Regions from separate parts of the Homo sapiens genome. Here all the other regions are linked to region 3. Evidence: promoter capture Hi-C in 16 types of primary human blood cells and fetal thymus (Javierre and others, 2016). All regions are on one chromosome and are shown on one strand. Each heading gives the region's core, a stretch centred on a gene start or on the middle of the fragment in contact. The rest is flanking DNA. Distances are from core to core; before and after follow the strand shown.

The links. Contacts are between HindIII fragments. The CHiCAGO score rates a contact against its expected background, and 5 or more counts as called.
Region 1: the fragment with the promoter of CYP39A1 here is called in contact with the fragment with the promoter of ENPP5 in region 3 in 3 of 17 cell types (naive B cells, non-activated CD4 T cells and total B cells); the score reaches 5.9 in naive B cells.
Region 2: a contact is called between a fragment that was not itself captured here and the fragment with the promoter of ENPP5 in region 3, in 1 of 17 cell types (naive B cells). The highest score is 5.7, in naive B cells.

What each region holds. Positions count from the first base shown.
Region 1 is chr6:46,651,203-46,654,936 of GRCh38, forward strand. It overlaps CYP39A1 (cytochrome P450 family 39 subfamily A member 1), which reads right to left and starts at 1,616. Exons shown (of 12, transcript NM_016593.5): 1 at 1,204-1,616. The coding sequence starts at 1,380. It overlaps SLC25A27 (solute carrier family 25 member 27), which reads left to right and starts at 1,773. Exons shown (of 9, transcript NM_004277.5): 1 at 1,773-2,096. The coding sequence starts at 1,991. RefSeq lists enhancers at 1,521-1,570, 1,801-1,930 and silencers at 1,591-1,680, 2,111-2,210. The HindIII fragment of the contact is 2,676 bases long and covers 1-2,353 here.
Region 2 is chr6:46,622,401-46,626,114 of GRCh38, forward strand. It overlaps CYP39A1 (cytochrome P450 family 39 subfamily A member 1), which reads right to left. Exons shown (of 12, transcript NM_016593.5): 7 at 3,018-3,108. Among named protein-coding and RNA genes, the nearest start is that of CYP39A1, 29 kb to the right of the region's middle. The HindIII fragment of the contact is 1,974 bases long and covers 429-2,402 here.
Region 3 is chr6:46,169,404-46,173,437 of GRCh38, forward strand. It overlaps ENPP5 (ectonucleotide pyrophosphatase/phosphodiesterase family member 5), which reads right to left and starts at 1,577. Exons shown (of 5, transcript NM_001290072.2): 1 at 1,405-1,577; 2 at 650-711. RefSeq lists a silencer at 1,749-1,808. The HindIII fragment of the contact is 3,442 bases long and covers 895-4,034 here.

The DNA of each region.
Region 1 (3,734 bases), core at 366-2,865, 480 kb after region 3:
AAATGTACAACCACACAATCAATACATGCACACAAACACGCAAGAATGTTCACTGAAGCACTGGCTGAAAGAAAAAAGTTTGGCAGCAACCTATAAACCCAACTATTGAGATTTAAGTAAACTATTGTATCCTCCTATGACAAAATATAGCCATAAAAGGAAGATTCAAAGTATTTCATGGTACAGGAAAGTCATTCACATTATATGTTAAAATCAAAAGCACATAAAAGAGTATTATACTATTATTCCATTGTTGTTCATTAAATAGTTGTAAATACATAGGAAAATGACCAAAATAATATAAATACACTAAATTTTTACAGTACAGCTGGTGTGATATTCTGGGTTATTTTTATTTTCATCTTAGTTCTCTTTAATTTTCTATATGTTTTTTACTAAATTGGAATCTCAGAGATTTTGAAGGCAAATGATCAGTGGTAAAATAATGCTACTACGTATAAATTCATTCTACAAATTGGGCTAACCAGATGGAAAATGGGTCACCACAGAAAGTATTATAATTCATAAGAATAATTATAATATCATACAAATTTATTAGACAATCAAATACCATAAAATATTTGTGACTGGAAATTGAATAAAACTTAAAAGACATTAATAAAGGTCTGTTCCTTAAAGTGCTCAGACATTTAAAAGATACTTTCAAGACAAAAACATCTACTACAAGGAGGATTACTAGTCTCTTCAGGCCGTAGTGAAAATGGAGTACATCATCATCAAATAACAACGTCAGCTAAAAATACAGAGCCTGTTTATTGTGTACGGACCAACTGTGCAAGCAATTTGTACAATACTTTGGTGTTAACTCCAATTTGGATACGAATTACTCATTTTCACAAACTTAAATTGGATTACACTTTATCTTTCCCAATTACTGAAAACATTTACTTAACACATACACATTTGGAACTTAACTTCGATGAAGTAAAAATACGAAAAGTTAATCTCTACTTCCAAAAATGTCGATGCACGCTGCAATTGTATTTCATTTCTTTCGCAAAATTTTGCACAGGATATTGTTGTTAATTGTTAGTAGAGGAATTCAGAAATGACTAGATCCTTTAGTTGAGGCAAGCAGGTATGTTCCCCGTGTTCTAGCCCTGCACTTAAGAGTCAATGAAAGAAAGTTTAAAAAAGAAAGCATTGTCTCCTCTGGAGACCCCGTCTGCCACGACCACATACCTTGATTCTTGCTTTCTCTATAAATTCTAGAGGGGCTTTCCCAAACTCAAATCCAACTCCAATCCAAGGAATCCAGCCCTTGATGCACGGGGGTCTACGCAAATTCTTCCGCTGAAGGAGTAAGAACAGAGCAAGGCAACCCAGGATTATAATCACTGTTGGGGAAATTAGTTCCATGTTTTTGTCCAGCACCTTCCAGAAGCAGAAAAGTGTGAAACAGTCCTGCCGTCCCTTGCTTCTTTTCTGTGGGCTACGGAACCTGTCGGGACTCCCAACCTTTCTGCTGCAACTTTTGCAGCTCTCCTTCGTAACTGTAGCTTCCTTCCTCTGTCCCAGTTTTCAGGTGATTTTTCCATTGTCGCTCCCTCCCACCTCCACTTCTCTTTGAATCTCAGCCAGCGCGGAAAAAATGCAAGGAGGGGCAGGGCCGGGCTAGGACTGACGGGCGAGAACCAGCCGCGTTGCCATGGAGGCCGGGGGCGGAGCCGCAGAGGGACCCGCGGCCGGCCAATCAGAGACGTAGCGGAGCCCGGCGGACTACATTGCCCAGTAACCTCCTGGGCTCCGCTGTGTTTTTCTATTCTGGGGTGTAAGGGGCAGCTGGACCACTCCAGCTGGGACTGCTAGGAAGGTTGCGGGTCCACCCGGCCGAGCCGAACGAGGGAAATGGTCCTCACCCGGCCACTCGCCGGTTGAAAAGGGGCCGCCCTGGCAGGGAAGCGGCCGCCGCGGCGCGGTGCAGCGCAGCGGCGAGAAGGAGTGCGTTATCGTCTTGCGCTACTGCTGAATGTCCGTCCCGGAGGAGGAGGAGAGGCTTTTGCCGCTGACCCAGAGATGGCCCCGAGCGAGCAAATTCCTACTGTCCGGCTGCGCGGCTACCGTGGCCGAGCTAGGTACCCGGCTGCCCACGCCTGGGCCTCCCGGGCCAGTGGCACGCGCCGCGCTGGGGGAGGGTGCGCGGGCGGCTTCGCGCCCGGCAGTGCGCATCGGAGAGGTCGCCCCTTCCATGCCCGCCTGGCAGAGGTGGCGGTGGAGGCCAGGCCCGCGGTGGGAGGAGGAGGGATTGAGGTCTCCACGGCCTTTTCCTTCTAATCTCTTCTAATGCTTCCCTTAGGCATGTGCTGTGGTGCTTGAATGTTGTACTTTAAGAAGCTTCGCGAGCTGTCATTCCTCTGTAGGAATCATTTTCCTTTTCATGAGGATGACCTTTTTAAAAACGTAATCTGTTTTCCATCCTTACTGAGATCATCTCTGTGGTTTATAGTCTTACACAGCCACACTGTCATTATCTTGTGGGTCCAAGTTGTGGACCTACCTTGTGGGACTTCCGTTATTAACCTGCCACTCACAGAGCATCGACTACTTGACCTCTTTGAGTGTAATTCATCTATACTGTTTACCTTGCAGGATTCTGAGAAGTCAATAATATATGATTGCTAAACCCAAGGCAGGACACCCATTAGTTGCGACATTTTTATAATTCCTACAATACCAGGGACTGTGGATATATATTTGAAAAGACCCAGTTCTGACCTTCTTACAGGCTGCTGGGGAGACAGAGAAAGACAATTATAATGTGCTACTTGTTATAATGAAGATATTATTAGGTGTCATAAAAGCATAGAAGAGCAGTTACATCTGCCTACATGAGTAAGAAAAAACTTTAAGAGGCCATCTAGAGTGGAATGATGATGCCCTTGAATGAGCAAGTAGCGTTTATTCCAAGGATTTTGTGAGTAGTATACTCATGTGTTTCCTGTGAAGCCTTAACTGTGTATTTTAAGATTACCCTTACATTTTCTTGCCTGTTACAAAAAAATAAAAAGAACAGTTCTGATGCGTTATCATTTGTAAATGTTAGTTGGTCCTATTTTAAGAGTTTATTTTTTAATTCTAGCATAGCCAGCCATGATCAGTTGTTTCGTGCTCTTCCATTTTTGCCTTTTAGCCCCTCTATTTTTTAATGTCTCTCCTTTCGAAAATGATGGAGAATTTTTACTTTTCATTGTTTTTACTGAAATAAAATTCATCAGCTTAAAAAGATCTAAAAGCAGATTGCTGAATGATATTTCCAGGTTTTATTTTTAATTGATGTGTCCCCCTCTGACTCAATGGCTTTTATACAGGACTATTCCTCGTTAAAAATTCATGGAGAGAATTGTGTGTGGAGAATGGATGGGAATCAAAATGTGGGATGGTTTTAAGTACAAACCACTTCAGGAACCTGAAGCATCATTTAACAAACCAGCGAGAAAACAAAACTTATTTTGAAAGACATAATCTGTGTAATATGGAGAAATCTATTAAGATTTTTCAGGTTTCATATGTCAATAAAATATTGCTTGAAGTCTATGCAAGCTACTTCTGTTCTAGGGAAACTGTCAGCAAGATACTAACTTTTCCAAAAACCAGTGGTAAGATTTAATATTCACTTCCCTTCCCCACATTGTTTTCTCTTGGAAAAGGTATACTAAGGTTTTGTGTCAGGTGGTGGTCATTGAAAAGTCTTATATAATGTAAGTAATGTTCAT
Region 2 (3,714 bases), core at 166-2,665, 450 kb after region 3:
CAAGATGACAACCTGAGAACGCACTTCTACCTTCCTCTGCCCCAATGTCCCATTAAAAAAAATGAAGCCCAATATGCTGGCACACACTTGTGGTCCTAGCTACTCAGGAGGCTGTGGCAGGAGGATCACTTGAGCCCAGGAGCTCGAGGCTGTAGTGAGCTATGATCATTCCACTGTACTCCAGGTGACAAAGTGAGACCCTGTTGCTAAAAAGTAAATTAAAAAGTGTGCAATTAAAAAATAAAAACACAGCTGTAAAACAAGAAAAGGAAGAAGCAGATAATGAAGACTTAGGAAGATAATAAAGACTTAGATAATAAAGACTTAGATAGAAGGTGTACAGGATTAGTTAGAGGAAGTAGAATAATGAAAAGCACCACCCAAAATAATTGGGGCTAAGCAAGCATCTTCACAAAGGAGCCCCAAAAAGCTTTCATTTTAAAGTAAACAAATAGAGAACACAAGAGTAGGCTGAAAGGCAGCTATCAAGATAGTTCAAGAACTAACTGCCTTTAGAAAAGTGGTATGAGTCTGACCCTTTCCTTTCGCAAGTATTCAATAGTAGTTTTTACCCTGAGATTTGTTTTATAAGAAAGTTGGGCAAAGTGCCTAGAAGTGAGTGTTGAAGCCACAGAGATACAGCATTGGAAATTCATAAAAGACTTTCCCAAGAAGGAAATGGTGATCTTGCGGGAGACAAGAGCATAGAACAGAAAAACTGCTGTGCTGAGTCAGATTCCTGTTCCATGCCTGTGATGATAATTTGTACATGTAACTTGACTGGATCGGGGGTGCCCAGATATTTGACTAAACATTATTTCTGGGTGTGTCTGTGAGGGTATTACTAGTTGATATTAGCATTTCAATCAGTAGACTGAGTAGGGCAGACTGCCCTCCTATATGTGGGTGGGTAAATTTACTCAGGGTTCTCCAGAGAAACAAAACTCAACAGATTAGATGATGCCTAGATGATGGTTAATTCTATATGTTAACTTGACTGGCCATGGGGTATTCAGTTTAACCATTATTCTGGGTGTGTCTGTGAGGGTGTTTCTGGATGACAGATGAGTATTTGAATTCGTGGGCTCAGTAAAGTAGGCTTCCCTCCCTAATGTAAGTGTGCACCATCCAATCCACTGAGAGCCTGCATCAACAGCACATCATGGGACTCCTCAGCCTCCATAGTCAGGTCAGCCAATTTTTTATAATAAATGTCTTTTGAGTTTTCTCTCTCTCTTTATCTATGTATCTATTTACATCCTAATTGGTTCCATTTCTCTGGAGAATCCTGACTAATCGAATGTACTTAAATGTTCCTTCCTTGACAGAATCCTTTGTATGGACACATGGATATCTTCCTTGATATCAGCTTCCAAAGATCTGTGGACTCCTCTCACAACATTTAAATTCCTGAGCTGCTACTAGATCTTATGTATGGATTATTGAATAGCTTCTGTATAAGTATGGTTAAAAAAAAAGTTTGATGTCTTTCATAAATAGTTTTCAATTCTGCAGTAGTGTCTTATAGACTGAAAGCATCCATATAATGTAGCTGTTGCAGTGGTAGTACTATTCGAAGGAGCATTTTTTGTGTCAGAAGAGAACAATGGGTTTTAAAAATAAACAATAACATAGAAAAAGCAAAAAGGTTTTAATCTTTCTCCACTAGAACTGGGTTCAAGAGTTCTAGAATCAAGCCTTGTAGAAATTTAGATTAATGTTACACTTCTGTTGTGGCCTTTGGGTCAGAGAGGACCCCCCACGTTATCCCCATCATCCCCTCTCTACTCTTTTATTTCCTAAAGCCACAAATTTGGAGTACCCTAAGTCAGGAAAAGACTCTAGTAAGGAAATGATAAAGGAGAATATGTGACAATCAAGAGTGCATTGCCTTTTTCCATTTGTAGACATGTGGGCATGTGCCTTTCTATTTGTTTTGTAGATGCAAGCTGCACAAAGGCCAGTTGTCTTCTCTTATATTCACCAGTGTCTTTCCAGAATCTAACCTGTTAGCATTGTTGGCATTCAATGATAATGATGCTCACCATTTCTATAAGGTCCAGCATCTGCTGACGCATACTCAAGGCTCAGACAATATTACTTAGATATTCATGGTTGCCAAGCCAGTTTACTTTTTGGTTTAACTCCATAAGAAGCAATCCAAAAAAAAAAACTTTAAATAAAATATTTTCAGTAATCATGGAAGGGAGAGGGAAAACCATTAACTGGCATCATACCTTTTGCCCTAATATTATATTGTTTTCTTCCAAGAAAACCCTATCATTTCTTATTCTTTTTATATCAGGATACATAATACGACATATTAAGAAGTTTAAAAAAGTCAACTCCCCAGATTGGTCAAATTATGCTGAATAAACAAGTAGTTGAGTACTCTCTATTCAAGCTTGTATTTGCTTTTTAAAAGAGATGATAAATAAACAGCTGACATCTGAACTAAAGAGTTCAAGGCAACAATCCCTATTTGCAGCTCCTAAATCCTCAAATTTCTAACAACCATAAGGGTTTTTTTATTTCTTTTTGTTTACTTGTTTTTTGTTTGTTGTCTTTTAATAATCCTTTGGTAGCAAGCCTTACCTGACCTCTACAGTCCTATTAGGGCTCTTATGTAATATATGGAATATACCCTTATTACTTTTATAAAATCTGAAAAATCCTGAACTTGAAAACTGTGGACATTCATTCAATTGAGGTGAGGATCCAAGACATTAGAAGAACAAACAGGTGTATATATATTTAAGTAAGGAAATTAGGCAAATCACAATCTCTATAGCACTGATTTCATCATTTGGAAAATGAAGGAGTTGCACAAAAATATGCTTGACAGTAATTAAACTCTAGGATTCTACCTGATCAATTTATATCCTGATATATAACAAATTATGTTGAATTTTGGATTATGTTGAATTTTTATAAAATTATAGGTATTTAGCTTTGCCAATAATGTGTGACAAACATGCATTATTAGCTGTGTCTTCCTATATAATAAGGTTTAGTACCTGCTTTGCCAAACACAGAAGATATGCCTTCCATAATGGCCTTGTGGATATCAGGATGAGAAAGGACGTATGCAAGTGTCCAAAATGCAACCTTAAAAAGAAAAACATATATCAAAAATATGAACTTCTTTGAAGGTGAACAAAAGCATATTTAGTATTAGCCATACATATATTTTTTAAAAAGGATGATGTTTAAATTAACCTTAAGAGCACATTAGTAGAAAGCATATTTTGAAAACAACTAGATATTATTAATAAGAGATATGTAATATATCTCCAAGAAGCCAGATTTAAATTTTTATTTTGTCACTATAATTTAACTATATAATTTAAATAGATTAAACATCTATCTTCACTAAAAATGAGAAAAGTTGTTATTTTTACTAATGAGTAACACAAAATATTATATAGGCATATATTAAATTTTCAGAAGCAACTAGTTATGACACTTAAGAATATTAATCCAAAACAAAAACATTTCTTAAGATTTAATTTCCTTAGAATACAAGTGAATTAGCACATTTTATATTCTGCAACTGAAACACAGTAGTTTTAAATAAGCCCAGGAAAATGCAGCAGGAAACCATCCCGTAAACTAAATTATGAGAGTACTCAATGTCAAAAACAAAGTCCTTTTTTTTGGCTTTTTTTGGCTCTGAATTAGTAAATAAAAGAAAAAAAATTTTTGAGTCCTTTC
Region 3 (4,034 bases), core at 327-2,826:
TTTTTTTGAGAGGGAGTCTCACTCTGTTGCCCAAGCTGGTGTGCGGTGGCACGATCTCAGCTTACTGCAACTTCCGCCTTCCGTGTTCAAGCAATTCTCCTGCCTCAGTCTCCCAAGTAGCTGGGACTACAGGCGCCCGCCACCACACCCAGCTAATTTTTGTATTTTCAGTAGAGACAGGGTTTCGCCATGTTGGCCAGCCTGGTCTCAAAACTGCTGACCTCAGGTGATTCACCCTTCTCGGCTCCCCAAAGTGCTGGGATTACAGGCATGAGCCACCGCAGCCGGCCTGAAGACATTTTTAAACTTCAAAAATATATCCTGTTTCACCTTGCTGTATTATAGGTACAGGTAAATAAAAACTACTTGGCATGCTTGCTTTGCTTTCAGAAATACAAGGTATATGTACATTGTGGGTATTCGCTGAGGGCAATAAATTCTGTTTTGCTGGTTTTAAACTGTGTTTTCACCATACCTAGACATTTCTTAAACTGAAATTGTTTTAGGTATTGGTCTCAAGATGATAGCTCAAATGTCATATTTAAAAACGATTTCTTGGATGGCAATACTCTCTCTGATTCTGGAAGGAACATTAAACACAGTTGCAGCAAGGAATAGCAAATAGGTTACTGCAAATATATTTACTCACCTATCTGGCTATGGATGGTAGTTGCTCTCTCTGTCCTTTCTCCCCCTAATTTTCTCTCCCACCTTTTTAAAACAAGGAAGGCTAGTATCAACCAAATGTAATTTAAGGCTAAAAGCAGAGGAAATAAACTACATGGAACACCTCATTTTCATCTATCTTAGCAAATTAATTCGGCACATGTGTAAGCAGGAGAAAACTGCTTTCTTGGGACCAACAAAAGTAAGCAAAGATTAAGTGTTGTCTAAAGCTTAGGAATGTTTGGCAAGAAGACTCAACATCACATCCATGACACAGAGCAATAAACAGAGGTGGGGGGTGGGGAATGAAAACAATCAGAATTTTTTTTTTTTTCGTGCACAAAATGCTGCACAAAACAGTGGAATCCCTGGATCTGGCTCCACATTTCATTGAGTACTTTCCAGTTCTTTCTCCCCTCCAACCCTTCCTCCACAAACAGACTTGGAGAGCAGGAAGGACGGGGCACCGATTAAACGGAAGAGGGAAAGTGCAGAAGGAGTAGGTTTGTGTAGCTCGGGTAGACGTCAAGGGCGGGGGTGTCCATCTTCTCCACCAGGATTCCATCCTAGCCACCCAGAATGGTCGCGGCGTAGGTTATGTTCCCAATTCCCAGTCATCCCGCCCACCGAGGCCTGGGCTTCTTAGATGTGCAGTGGCAAGGAGGGGACGTTGCTTTAGGGACCCAGAGGAGCAGTGTGGGTTCCCGGGAGGGAAGCCACCCACGCCCCTGGACTCACCCTCGCAGCGATCCGTTCAGTCCGTATTAGTTTGGAGCAACGGGAGGGAGGGTCTGGAGGAGACTCCCTCGGGCGCGCCGCGGGTAACGGCGGGAGGGTGACTGGAGGAACGCCCCCGGAACGCGCAGGAGCTCACCTGCGCTCAACTCTGGAGCGGAGCACCTGACCGCGCCGCTTCCCCGCCCCGCCTCCTGGCTTCTATTGGCTGCTGCAGAGATAGTCACTTCTGCCTGGGTTGCCCCCGAAAGCCAGGCTCCCAGGAGTAGCTGCACGGCCTGTCAATCAGCGGGGGCAGGGGCGGGCGCTGCCTGGGTTTGGAGGGTGGAGGGGGAGGGGACTCCCGGGGGCAGGGACCCATCTGGTAGGGCGAAGGCGTGGGATGGCCAATTGCTTGGTCACACACAAAACCTTCCGGCAACGTGCCTTTTCCAGGGGACCAGCTGTGCTGGAGTCAGTGATGCTGAGAGATTATTGCGTGTTACCCCAATGGTGGGTGTACTCTAACAGTCACTGTTTTTTGTTTAAAAGCGACTTGTATTCTCTGATTTCTTATCCCAGGCTTTTTTCCTTCCCCCGCCCCCCGCCCCCTGCCTTGTCACGAATTGGCGATGGGGCACACCATGGGCTTTGCTCTGAGGAACACCTGCACACCCGAGGATGCCAATGGGACGATGAAGTTTCATTCTTTTTATTAGTGGGTGTTATCTGCTTTACCTCAGAAAGAATTTATTAACCTAGTCAACTCTGCAGCCCCAACGTTTGCAGTCCAGGTTTTTGCAATTGAGGTCCCTGAGGTATATTTGTGGTGTACCTAGCATGGCACCTGAAATTGTGCGAATTAAACCAAGACAGGTTCAGAATTAGGTTAATTTGCACAGGAGAGAGGCTGAACAGCCACCCTCTCTGGTGGTGGCATCCGAGCTCCAGACTCTGTTTCTACCTTTGTTTGCAAAGTAAACATTAAAACTACAAACATCAGGCCTGATTACTCTTTCAGAAAGCCTTCAGTGCTTCTTGTGTGTTAGTGCCCCTATTTTGTCTTTTTCCGTACTGTAGTGGATTATTTTCTCAGTTTTTTTGGGATAATCAATGGCATTTTTAGGCCTGAGGGAGTGTAGGCAGGTACTTAGTTTGCCAGTATGATCCCAACTGTCTTTACCATAAATTATAGCAGTGATATCAAACTACCCTGAAAGAATTTGTCCATCTACACAATCCCAGCTAGAATTCTGACCTAATTAGAATTCTAGTTCTATCTGCAGTAGGCAATAATATCAGGTTGATTGTTACAATGTAAGTTTAACATCTAATTAGCTGGTAAAACTGGGAGCATATCTGCAATGGTGGTTTTGGCTCCTGCCCGGAGCTCGGATCCCTTGTCTGGTGTGCTGGAGCTTTAAAGTGAATAGAGATATCTGTTGATATTTAATTAAGCCATGCAAACATTTTGGTCATAGCTTTTTCTCTGTCTGCTTCTAATAGAGGGACAATCTCAACCCCAAACATTGTTACCTCCTAACTGGGTCATCCCATCCCGAAGGGCATCTGGGCACTCTTCCATGGCCTTTTATTCGTGGTAACTTGAGTTTATGGTTTTCAACACGTGGGATGGGGATTAAGAGGGAGGCTGGTTTCTATGTTTAGTGAGACCCAAACACAATGAAGTTGAACAAGTTGTTCCAATTCCCCAAAGCCCTGTCCTTTGAAATTGCCCAAACTTGGAACAGAGTGGTCCAATCTTGTAAGTCCTTGTCCCCCAGAATAGGTCAACTCTGTGCTCTCCCAAAACACTCAAAGGACAATGTACGCTTATCAGAGAGCAGGAGTGGTGAAAATGGGCCTGACTTTTGTTCGGATCACTGAACATTGTTGGACTCTGTTTGGATGACAACCTGCTTTGCTCTGCAAATTTTATGGAAGTTATGATTATATTCACCAGCTATTCCTGTGAAATAGGCATGGTACAGCTGGTAACCACAGTGCACAACACAGAAAAGTGCTCATAAGACTGCCAGATTCCTCCCAGAAGTCCATATAATGATATCTAATGTTCACCTGATAGGCTTGCTATTACCTTATGTTGTTCATGGGGAGAAAGTCTGGTTTACATAGTATAGAGGAATGAATGTAAAACATGAGATTCCTGCTCCCACATCTGCACCTGCCCTCCTGTCTTATTGTTGCCTCAGTATCTGTCTATTTGCAATAGGTTTTCAGAAAGTTTTAGCAGCAGAAACCACAACCTGCTATTGACTGTAACTATTCTTTTATTCTCTGTTATTAAATTAGTGGAATTCTAATTGAATAATAGTGTAACAGAATAACCAACTTCTTTCTTTCAAAGGTTTTGGGGTCAGGTGGGGAGGGAGATCCCTCTGCCTCCCCAAGGAAGTCTAATACAGGTTGAGAGAGGGACAATTTTCTTCGTCAGGGGCTGGAAGAGCTTTGTGCTAAAACTGAAAAGGGATCTGTTCTTTAAGAAACAACCAGAACTGGCTCTACCACAGAAGTCTTGTTTTTCAGAACTAGACTTCATGATAGGAAAAATAAACACATAATTTTACAATTAAAAAATTTTAAAGGTGCATTCCAGTACATTATACCACAAATGACTAAACTAAAAGAAAGTT